Regions from separate parts of the Homo sapiens genome. Here region 2 is linked to region 1. The links are contacts of gene promoters, found by promoter capture Hi-C in blood cells and fetal thymus (Javierre and others, 2016). All regions are on one chromosome and are shown on one strand. Each heading gives the region's core, a stretch centred on a gene start or on the middle of the fragment in contact. The rest is flanking DNA. Distances are from core to core; before and after follow the strand shown.

Region 1 (5,637 bases), core at 1,538-4,037:
AGTTACATGAGCAAGGAATGACACTAAGAAATATTTTACTCCTTAAACTTTTCAACAGTGTCATCACATTCCTTCTTTTTAGAAACTTGAAATAAATCTTAACTCAAAGCTAACAAATTTGTTTTGACAAAAATAGTGTTAAGAAAAAAATTTATTATAGTTTTTGATATTTTTCCAGATGATTCAAAGGACATGAAGAAGACTGTCATTCCTTCAAAGTTTTCTCCAGGACAAATGCACAATTTTTCTCCATTAAAAGATCCTGGGAAGATCTATTTATTGGCTGTAATGCGACAGTAATTTATTTATGCTTAAACTTAATCAGATATATGAGTGAATGATCTTTGTTACAAAAGCAAATTGCTACTCTAAACACAAAATATTTCTTTATGGTTTGATGATCATTAAAAGATTATTTTTACTAAACAAAGTCTAAGTATTTTTTAACCTTTTAAATCTATACTCGTTTTTGATAAATGTCATACATGTCCCCTTCTGATCTACATCCTCTCAGATCACTGCTAACTTCTGCACATGGTCACAAACCAAATAGATTTATCAAATTGCTTTTTATAATTTTGTTATATTTTTAAACAATTTTGTTTTACAAATATTAAATAAGTAGAATGCATATTAAAATTACATCTCCACCCATGAACTGTTTTCTCCCTCTCTGAAGGTAATTCTGTTAAATAACACTTTTCACTCAATTTGCGTCACAGCCCTTTTATTTTTAATTTTTAATTTTTTTATTTTTTATGAGACGGAGTCTCGCTTTTTCGCCCAGGCTGGAGTGCAGTGGCGTGATTTCTGCTCACTGCAGCCTCTGCCTCCCGGGTTCAACCAATTTTCCTGTATCAGCTTCCCCACTGACTGGGATTACAGGCGCCCACGACCACGCCCGGCTAATTTGTGTATTTTTAGTAGAGACGGGCTTTCGCCATGTTGGCCAGGCTGGTCTCGAACTCCTGACCTCAGGTGATCCACCCAACCTTGGCCTCCCAAAGTGCTGGGATTACAGGCAATAGCCAACGCGCCCGGCAGGTCACGGTCCTTTTAAAAGGTTATGGCAATTGTACTGCTACTTCACCACTAGGTGTCTCACAATGCTAGAATTTGGGAAACTCAGAGGCAAATTGTTAAAAACAAAGTGGGGAATGCAGATATTATCTCTTTCCTCTAAAATGTTATCCAAAAATCTATTCTGGCCGGTGGCTCACGCCTGTAATCCCAGCACTTTAGGAGGCCGCGGCGGGAGAAATGCTTGAGTCCAGGAGTTTAAGACCAGCCTGGGTAACATAGTGAGACCCCATCTCTTAAAAAAAAAATTGTTTCTGTTCATCTACACACTTGAAGTTGCCTCCAACGTCCTTTCTCTGCTAGCATTTTCATCTTTCTACTACCCCAAGACGTTGGTCTCAAACGTGGTTCTTCGCAACTGAATTTTAAAATTATTCATGTAAAATCATGGACTGTCTGTTGTATTTTATGGACTCAACAGTTCACGGATAAATCAATCAAGCCTCTTCGATATTCATTTTTAAAAACTAGGCTTCTGATAAAAGGCTGAGAAAACTTATTCCTAAAGTGTTCTTTAAGAAAAAAAAAAAAAAAAGCAGCGGCCGGGCGCGGTGGCTCACGCCCGTAATCCCAGCACTTTGGGAGGCCGGGGCGGGCGGATCACGAGGTCAGGAGAGCGAGACCAACCTGGCTAACACGGTGAAACCCCGTCTCCACTAAAAATACAAAAAAATTATCCGGGCGTGGTGGCGGGCGCCTGTAGTCCCAGCTACTCGGGAGGCTGAGGCAGGAGAATGGCGTGAACCCGGGAGGTGGAGCTTGCAGTGAGCCGAGATCGCGCCACTGCACTCCAGCCTGGGCGACAGAGCGACTCCGTCTCAAAAAAAAAAAAAGAAAGAAAAAAGAAAAAGAAAAAAAAGAAAAAGCACCTACCACATCAGAGAATGAAGTACTTACATTAAACCCAAATGTTCTTCATTTGTTAAAGTGGAAACTCTTACCATCAGTAAATCTTGAGCTCTTAGATGTCAAAGTTACGTAGGCTTCCAAACAAGAAATTCTCTCATCTTTGTCTTTAAAACTCATGCCAAAATAATGCCACTTAAAGAGGAAAACTTTAGTTTGCACAATTAATTGAAAGGTGCAGCAGCATCATGATTGCTCAAAGTCGAAGGGTACACAGGGTGCATGCCGCAGGGATTATTCCTAACACTTGAGAAGGTCTAAATCATTTTGAATTTCCTTCAGCCCTCCAGAAAATAGTTATCTTAATATCCTTGTTTTCTCCAGCTGGACTTAGACATGAGTAAACTTCCCAAATTCGGGTTCCTGAAAAGGCAGCGTGTGCTGCAGCCTGGCACTGACTCCCCCGAGGAGCTATGGCGGGCGGGTGGGTAACGGTCTCACCAGGGCGTCAAAGATCCGCTAGGCCCAGAAAGCCAAGGGCAGCAGGGGATGGGCTGGCGTCACCAGGAGCGGAGGAGTGAGGGCTGCCGCGCGCCTCCCTAGGCCCAGCACCTGGAAGACACAGGGCGACGCGGGGCCGGGCCGCCGGGAGACCCGCTAACGGGCACTCGCCTGGGGTCCCGCCGCCTGCCTGGAGGCCGCGGGGCCGGGCGAGGCGCCGAAGCGGACAGGTGGGAGAGGAGCCGGGCAGCAGCCGCTGGATGGGCCGGGGAGAAGCCTCGGCCTCGCCCCCTGGGATGCGGGCTATGGCAACCCCCACGCCAGCTTCGCGTGGGGCCGCTGCCTTTACCTCCTTAGGTTTGAACGGCCCGCCCGGGGTAACCGCTAAGCGCAGCCCCGCCCCGCGCCGCGCTGTCCCGCCCCTTCCTCCGGCTCTGCAGCGCTCCCGCCCGGCCGCCCGCAGGCCTGGGTCCTCGCTTGAGCGGGAGGAGCGCCCCCTCTCTCGCTCACCCCTGCACCCGTCCCGAGGCGGGTCAGAAAGGCTCTGCTTCTCCCCATTCCCACTTTGGGAAGCATTACCGTATTTAGGAATGCTAACGTGGCCTACAGTGGGATGCCATTAGAAATCATGTATGAGAATGTTCCCTTGGAAATGATTCTCCAAACTGTCAAGTGCAAAAAGCAAGTTACAAACTGACCCCTTTTAGGTTAAAAATATGGATATACACAGGATGAGGTCTGAAAGGTATGAATAACTTGGATACGGTAAATTTGTACAGGATTATGTTTGCTTTTTAGTTCTTTTTATCTGTGTTTTCTTCTCATGTTTCAACAATGAATATATACAGATTTTGTGATAAAAAAGCTGAGCCGGGCCTGGTGGCTCACATCTGTAATCCCAGCACAGAGGTGGGAGGATCACTTGAGCCAAGGAATTTGAGACCAGCCTGGGCAACATAGTGAGACCCCCATCTCAAAAAAAAGATTTTTAAAAAATCTATTCATAAAAACCAGAGTGAAATGTGTTCATTGTTTACAAACATCCATTTTTGGGCATCATGAACTCCCAAGTACCCTCAAAGCCAAATAAATTTTTTAAACCCTAATTTTTTCATTCAATAAATATTTACTGGGCGTCTATTATATGCCAGGGACACTCCTGCTGCTCTTGGCAGCTTCTTCCTAGTCTCCTTTTTCTGGCTTCTTTTCCTTGGCCTACTCCCTAAATGAGAGGTCCTACCTCAGCATTTTTATTAGTTTATCATCCCATGCTTATGTAATTCTTATTCAGAACTTCAACCATCACTTTTAAGCCAATAACAGGCACTACCACCACTCTTCTCTGACTGGACATTTCTCCAACTGGATGTCCCTCAGTCATCCAAAACCAAACTCACTAAAATTATTATGAGACAGGGTCTCGCTCTGTCACGCACGCTGGAGTGCCGTGGTGCAATCTTGGCTCACTGCAACCTCCACCTCCCAGGTTCAAACGATTCTCCTGCCTCAGCCTCCCGAGTAGCTGGGATGACAGGCACCCGCCACCACGCCTAGCTAATTTTTGTATTTTCAGTAGAGACGGAGTTTTGCCAGGTTGGCCAGGCTGGTCTCGAACTCCTGACCTCAGGTGATCCACCTGCCTCAGCCTCCCAAAGTGCTGAGATTACAGGCATGAGCCACTGTGCCCGTCCACTAACAGTTATTAAATTCCAACTATGTGCCAATTACTGTGCTAGGTACTGGGAATACAGAGCTGACACAGCCACAGTTACTGCTGTTAAGGAGCTCATTGGTATAGAGCAAGTGCTGTAACAGAGGAACAGTAGCAGCACAAAGGAAAGAAGAACCAGCTAACTCTACTGGAGAACAGAGTGCATGAGATAGATTTTGATGTACAAGTGGCAATTTAAAAGGCAGACAGCAGGAAATTCCAAACTTAAAATGTATAAGGGCAGGAAAATTTCAAACTCAAAACAAAATGTGCAAGAGCAGTTGGGCACATGGAGAAGCTGCAAATAATTTGTTATAGGCAGAAACTAAGAGTTGTTAGAGGAAAGGATTAGAGAAAATTCCTGAGAAGTGAAGAAGCTAAGTCTTGGGAAGTTCTGGTTGCACCTTCAGAGTTTGAAGAGCATTTTAGAAAGTCCACTCTGGTGGCAGAATGGAGGACAGAATGAAGAGAGGCAAGGGTGGCTGCTAGGAGACCAGTAGGAAGCTACTGCATTTCTCCAGAAGGCAGTGGGGGGTGGAGCAGAACCAAGATGTGACATGTTCAGTTGGCAGAATCAACTGCATGGGGCAAGGAGTGAGGGAATGAAGAGTATAGGCTTGGGAGAAAATAAGATGCATTTAGTGTGAGGTTGTTAAGTTTGAGGTACCTGTAGGACTGTAAAGAATTAATGAATTACACATTCTTCAAGACAGCACCTCTCTGAAGCCTACCCCCACACTCCCTGGTAGAGTGAATAGTACCCTCTCTAGCTCTTCAAACAAATCTCTATTACAGCCATTTTACCCTTTCCTGCCCCACATTTGCAATTCTCCTGCAGAATTCTACTGAATTTTCTCTGTGTAGTTTACTACCTTCTAAAATCCCATATTATCTACTCATTTTTGTTTAATGTCTGCTCCCCATCTCCATCCCAATGTAAACAGGGCAGGGAATTTTGCCAATGGTTAAGTAGAATCCACATAACCCCAAAACCATTTAAACATTGCCCTTTTCTTTTTTCTCCAGTTAATTTATTTTTCTTGAGATATTTTATTATGTCTGAGGAGTGAAAGACTATATCATATCTCCTTTATATTGTTCAAGGAAGAATCATTGTCACCTCTCCCCACCTAAAAACGGGCAAAAAGACACCTAGTTATATGTAGTTTGCCTGAGCTTTACTTACATACTCCAGATTGAAGCCACTGAGCTGTAATTTCATATTCTTTACAGTCTTTTGCCTTTTTGCTTCCCTTTTTTTTGAGACAGAGTCTCACTTTGTCACCCAAGCTGAAGTGAAGTGGGGCAATTTCAGCTCACTGCAACCTTCGCCTCCCGGGTTCAAGCGATTCTTGCACCTCAGCCTTCCAAGTAGCTGAGATTACAGGTGCATGCCACCATGTCTGGCTAATTTTTTGTATTTTTAGTAGAGACGGGGTTTCATCATGTTAGCCAGGATGGTCTTGAACTCCTGACCTCAAGCAATCTGCCCGCCTCAG
Region 2 (5,637 bases), core at 1,701-4,200, 2.0 Mb before region 1:
TATCCTCAAACGTATGTCTCCAACTTCATGTAGGAGTAGAAAATTACTGAAGCAACTGTCAGCCTGGTGTGGGCCCAGTTCTGAGGATAGTCGGGGAGGCCGGCGAGCTCCCGGCAGAGGCCAGCAAGGATTGACCAGAGAGGCTTGCCTGTCCATCTTGGGCCACTTCCCCAGGGCCCTGGTTTGGGTCAGCCTGTCCCTGCTCAGCAAGGGCAGCCCCGAGCCTCACACCATGATCTGTGTCCCAGCCAAGGAGGACTTCCTCCAGCTCCATGAGGACTGGCATTACTGTGGGCCCCAGGAATCCAAACACAGTGACCCATTCAGGAGCAAGATCCTGAAACAGAAAGAGAAGAAGAAAAGGGAGAAGAGGCAGAAGCCAGGACGTGCCTCTTCTGATGGCCCGGCGGGGGAAGAGCCCGTGGCTGGGCAGGAAGCTCTGACTCTAGGGCTGTGGTCAGGCCCTCTGCCGCGTGTGACGTTGCACTGCTCCAGAACTCTCCTAGGCTTTGTGACTCAGGGAGATTTTTCCATGGCTGTTGGCTGTGGAGAAGCCCTGGGGTTTGTTAGCTTGACAGGCTTGCTGGATATGCTGTCCAGCCAGCCTGCAGCGCAGAGGGGCTTAGTGCTACTGAGGCCTCCCGCCTCTCTGCAGTATCGATTTGCGAGGATTGCTATTGAGGTGTGAATGCGTGCTTGTATCCCAGCAGGGCATAGATAATACGTTATTATTGTCTGCCAAGTTCTACATGTGGAGAATCTGCTTCTGCTTTAAAATATCATGTGAAACTCCCTGGAAACAAGAATAAAAAATTATGTATTATGCAGATGATGAAATGTTTACATCATTCCAGTAATGTCATTGATTTTCATCTTTCCCTGTCCTTGCTGTAATACTTTTAAATTATTTGGCCAAAAGCTTTGTATTATGATCTCTTGGTCTGTGTAGTTGTGGCTGAAAATAATGAGAAGCTCTACGAGTTATCATCCCCTTTTTTTGTTAGAAACAAAGGGCTTGTCAGGTCTATTTGAAAAACCTCATAGTCATGTGATAAGCAACAATAGATGTTTAATGATTTCACTGTTATAGCAGAAGACAAGAGAAGACGCTTGGCCTCTGTACATGAAATATGGGCTCCTGATGGACCTCATTCAATTCTGTACTGTGATTTCCATGCCGAACAACTCAAGCCTTAAAGAGAGAAATCATGGACAACTGATTTCTGCCTGTTTTCAGGCAGGCACAGTTTATGGCGTCAGTGCTAGGCTGGAATTAGAAAGTGGGGGTCTATGACGTGGACTTCCTGACTCTTTGATCTCTTTGTTGTTGACCAACACTTGATCCTACTAGTTACTTAATTTTTTTAAGTAAAAAATTATTATTATTTTGTTTCTGCAAAGATTTTCTCAAAGCCATAGAGGAGCATTTCTCAGAATATGTTCTATGATATGTGTCACCTAAAAAAGTAAGAGATTCCAAGGTCAGGTTGATATGGAAACTCTAGGTTAAATAAAGTTAAGCATTTCTTTATGAAAGAACTTCTGGAAACTTCCATGTGATAATGTGCATTGCGGATCTCTAGGAAGGAAATGATAGTGTATAGTATTTTCTAAATACTTGTGATTCCTAAAGTTCTCTTACAAGGAGCCCTTTGTAGGACCAGTGTTCTTAGTAGCGCGCTTTGGGCAGTGTGGCTGTGTAGTGCATAGCTACCTCTGCAAGGTGATAACTAAGCCGGCAAGCTGCCTTTCAACACTCATGCAGTCACGTTGTCCACCTGAGATTCTCAACAGGGTATAAAAGGAAGGTCTCATCTTGCCTCACAGGAAGAGTGGGCTCAGTGTGGCTTTTTTCCAACTATGGAGAAACTCAGTGCTCATCTACTTTAAGTTTCCACATATGGCTTGCTCATAGCCTTGGTCCTTACCTTTCCTGCCATAACTTTCTAGAAGAGCTTAATGGGATTTTTTTTCTAAAAAATGTAAATATGCAGTTAGGCATTATTTTATGTAAATGCATTGGGTTTTTACTGTAGCATTTGGCACTAAATGGCTTTGGGGGTGATGAGGTGGGGAAGGATACAGCAGGTGGTACAGTAGTCAGGAAGTACCTGCCACCAATGAGATGTCTGATGCTTTGCCTCTTACCATGCCTCTGAATGTCTTTGGATCCAACCCAGATGAGACTGAAAAAAAAAAAACAGTGTAACTAAGTGGCATCTGTAAACAGAATAAATGAAAATGTCACCTGATGTTCAGTTGTGAATATTTATATTTATTGGACCATTCCTTATTTGTTTTCTGGGCTCTCAGTCACCTCATTTGTGGCTGAGCTCACTCGATGACAGAAGTCTGAGTGTGCTGCGTGGTCACCTAACCTCATTCTGTACAGCCCTGCCTAGGGCCTGCTGCCCCGCCCTCATTATAGGGGACAGGGCACGTTTGCAGCCACTCTGCCTGGTGGGTGGTAGGTCAAAGAGCTGCGCACCAGAAAGATAGATTAGCATTTCCCAAAATGTATTCCTGGGAGTACTAGTCCCTGCAGCTGTTCCTGGAGAAAAGTATTTTATGGCTAAATAAATATGGGAAAAGCTATATATGGTATCCTCCTATTATGATTCACAATGAATACTTGCAGAGTCAAAGCTCTGCAAAGCTCTTTAGGAAAGAAATCTGTCTTTCAGACTCCCACACACGTACCTTTTTTGGTTTTTGCATACCTATTGTCCAGAGAACACTAGTTTCACAGAAGATACGTTGAAAAACTAACAGACTCTGCAGAGGCAGTAAAGAATCCATGTTCCTTATGAAAAAGACTGATAGGGGAATGGCTTACTTTCTGGCAGTTGAATTGATTAGCGTGTTGATCTTGATCCTTCCAAGTGCCTGCCATGCTGTACTAGAGCTACATAGCTACCAAATAAGTGCAATGTGGCCCTTGTCCTCTTGTTGAGGGAGCAATGCTTTTAGGGTTCTTGAAGCATCCTGACCAACATGGTGAAACCCTGTCTCTACCAAAAATACAAAATTAGCCAGGCATGGTGGCGCATGCCTGCCATCCCAGCTGCTTGAGAGGCTGAGGCAGGAGAATTGCTTGAACCCGGGAGGCGGAGGTTGCAATGAGCCGAGATCGCACCATTGCACTCCAGCCTGGGTAACAAGAGCAAAACTCCATTCCAAAAAAAAAAAAAGAAAAGAAAAGGCAGAGTTGTGAGCTGAACACTTACAGACCAGCTATGCACTTGAGTTCTGTAAGAAACAATGGATTCCTTTTGGTGTTTATGCTCTAGTAATATTGTTCATATCAGTCATCCATATTCATCATAAAACAATTAGAAAATGAAGATGAGCAACAATAACAAAATTTAAATCACCTGGATTTTCACCATGCAATATAACTAGTTACCTTCTGTTATGTATCCTAGACGTTAAGATGTATGTGGGTAGTTTTCTTTTAATAACATAAGCCGTTGCTTATATAAAGAGCTATACCATGCAAGTGCAGCAGAGTGCATGTTACCAGTTTTTTTGTTGGTGCTTGACTGGCAAGAGCTTTAAGGATAATACTCCTTTTTTTTTTTTTTTTTTTTAAATGGGAAGTTAGTATGTAACCACCCATCATGTACTAAGTGTAGCATTGCCGTCTTGGCGGCCACATGCCTTGCGTGAGTTCTTTCTTCCCAACCAGTGGGAGGTGAGGGGGGCGGTTGACAAGCTATATGGACTCCCTCATAGTCTTAACTGGCCTACTCGTAGCCAGCCGATCTGAGGCCTGGGGAGCACAGAGATAGGTCCAGGATTGAGCTGTTTAGCAGAGAATACATAGCCTGTAGCAACTGTGGGCCACTCAAGCATCAACCCCAGTTTCACAGCGGTTCTGGTTATTATAGGCCTCCTGAGGACACAGAGGAATACAGGCACTGCCTTTTCTTTGGCAACAGCAGCTTCCAGTCTTGGCACCCTTCCCTTCCCCTCCCCTTCCCCTCTCCTTTCCTTTCCTCCCCTTCCCCTCTCCTCCCCTCCCCTCCCCTCCTCTCCCCTCCTTTCCCCTCCTCTCCCCTCCTCTCCCCTCCTCTCCCCTCCTCTCCCCTCCTCTCCCCTCCTCTCCCCTCCTCTCTTCTTCTCTCCTCTTCTCTCCTACAGTCTTACTCTGTCTGCCCAGTCTGGAGTGCAGTGTCACGATCTTGGCTCACTGCAACCTCTGCCTCCCGGGTTCATGCGATTCTTCTGCCTCAGCCTCCCGAGTAGCTGGGATTACAGGTACACGCCACCATACCCGGCTAACTTTTGTATTTTTTAGTAGAGACGGGGTTTCACTACGTTGGTCAGGCCGGTCTCGAACTCCTGACCTCAAGTGATCTGTCCACCTCGGCCTCCCAAAGTGCTGAGTTTCAAGTGTGAGCCATTGTGCCTGGCCTTTGGCTGCATTTTAGAATCACCCAATAGCCCAAGCTGCAGCCCAGAAATCAATCTTGGGTTGGGCCCAAGGATCAGTATTTATGAGCTCCCCAGGCCGTTGTGATGTGCCGCTCAGTGGAGAATCGCCGCTTTCGGAGGTCTGGCTCTTGGACCCTCTGCACCTTGGGGAAGTGTGACTGAGTAACAAGGCCATGGAAACCCAAGAACTCCTGTGCCTGTAGCAGGCCTGCTTGCCATTACGAAAAAGTACATGTCTGCAAAGTCCGCTCACACGGTCTGTTGACTGCATGGTGAAGCGTCCAGGTGGGAACGTAATGAGAGCGTAGTGTCGAGGGCTGGGTGGCCCAGAGTCAGGGCTTCCACCTGGGGAAGAGGCCTGGTAGTGAAAAAGAAAACAGCCTCATTACTTCTGTAGCCTTCTCTACTTGAGAATATCAAATGAGGTCTCTTGTTTTTCTTTTGGTGAGTATACTTCCAGACCAGCTGTTCTCAGCCTTGGCTGCACATGGGAATCACCTGCAGGCTTTCAAAGCACTGGTGCCCAGGGCCTACCCTCCTGGGATGAAGCTTTAACTGGTCAAGGGTGTGAGCTAGACTTTGGGGGTTTTAACAGCTCCCAGGTGATTTGCAGCCAAGGTTGAGAACCACTCTTCCAGACTTTAAAAATGAGGTTCCAAAATAAATAATCAAAGATGCAGCTTATCAGTAATGGGGACCCTGAAGCAGGGTGTGGGGAGCAGATGCAGCTCTCTTGAGTGGGGCACACAGCTGTGACCCATGGCCCTGGTAGGGGCCTCCTGGACTTGGGCACGTGGCCAAGTTCATGTCAAGGCATTTTCCCTCTCCCCATGTTTTGAAAATTTAAATTTAATTAGATATTGTTCTGGAAGAGCCCACCCTAACCATTTGTGTGCTTTCACTTGAGGAAATGTTTACGAACATGGAACTCCCCTCGTTTCTCTCTCCAGTCCTACTGCGCCCCTCTGGGCTAACCCACTGGGCTCTGAACATGCTGGCCTCAGCTCCTTGAATGGCCAAGCTCTTGGCTCCTCCACGATTGTCCACATGCAGAGGCTTTCTCTGCCCACCATTTATTTTATTTTATTTTTTATTTTTTGAGACAGTGTCTTGCTAGGTCTCCCAGGCTGGAGTGCAGTGGCGTGAACATGGCTTACTGTCGCCTTGACCTCCCAGGCTCAAGTGATCCTCCTGCCTCAG

The links. The method cuts DNA at HindIII sites, captures the fragments that hold promoters and counts their contacts. A CHiCAGO score of 5 or more calls a contact.
Region 2: a contact is called between a fragment that was not itself captured here and the fragment with the promoter of FBXO43 in region 1, in 6 of 17 cell types (monocytes, M2 macrophages, non-activated CD4 T cells and 3 more). The highest score is 7.8, in monocytes.

What each region holds. Positions count from the first base shown.
Region 1 is chr8:100,143,030-100,148,666 of GRCh38, forward strand. FBXO43 (F-box protein 43) reads right to left here and starts at 2,788. Exons shown (of 5, transcript NM_001029860.4): 1 at 2,022-2,788. The coding sequence starts at 2,106. RefSeq lists an enhancer at 1,251-1,400 and a silencer at 2,512-2,971. The HindIII fragment of the contact is 15,929 bases long and covers 1-5,637 here.
Region 2 is chr8:98,157,584-98,163,220 of GRCh38, forward strand. It overlaps POP1 (POP1 ribonuclease P/MRP subunit), which reads left to right. Exons shown (of 16, transcript NM_001145860.2): 16 at 34-2,252. The coding sequence ends at 688. Among named protein-coding and RNA genes, the nearest start is that of NIPAL2-AS1, 16 kb to the right of the region's middle. The HindIII fragment of the contact is 4,067 bases long and covers 918-4,984 here.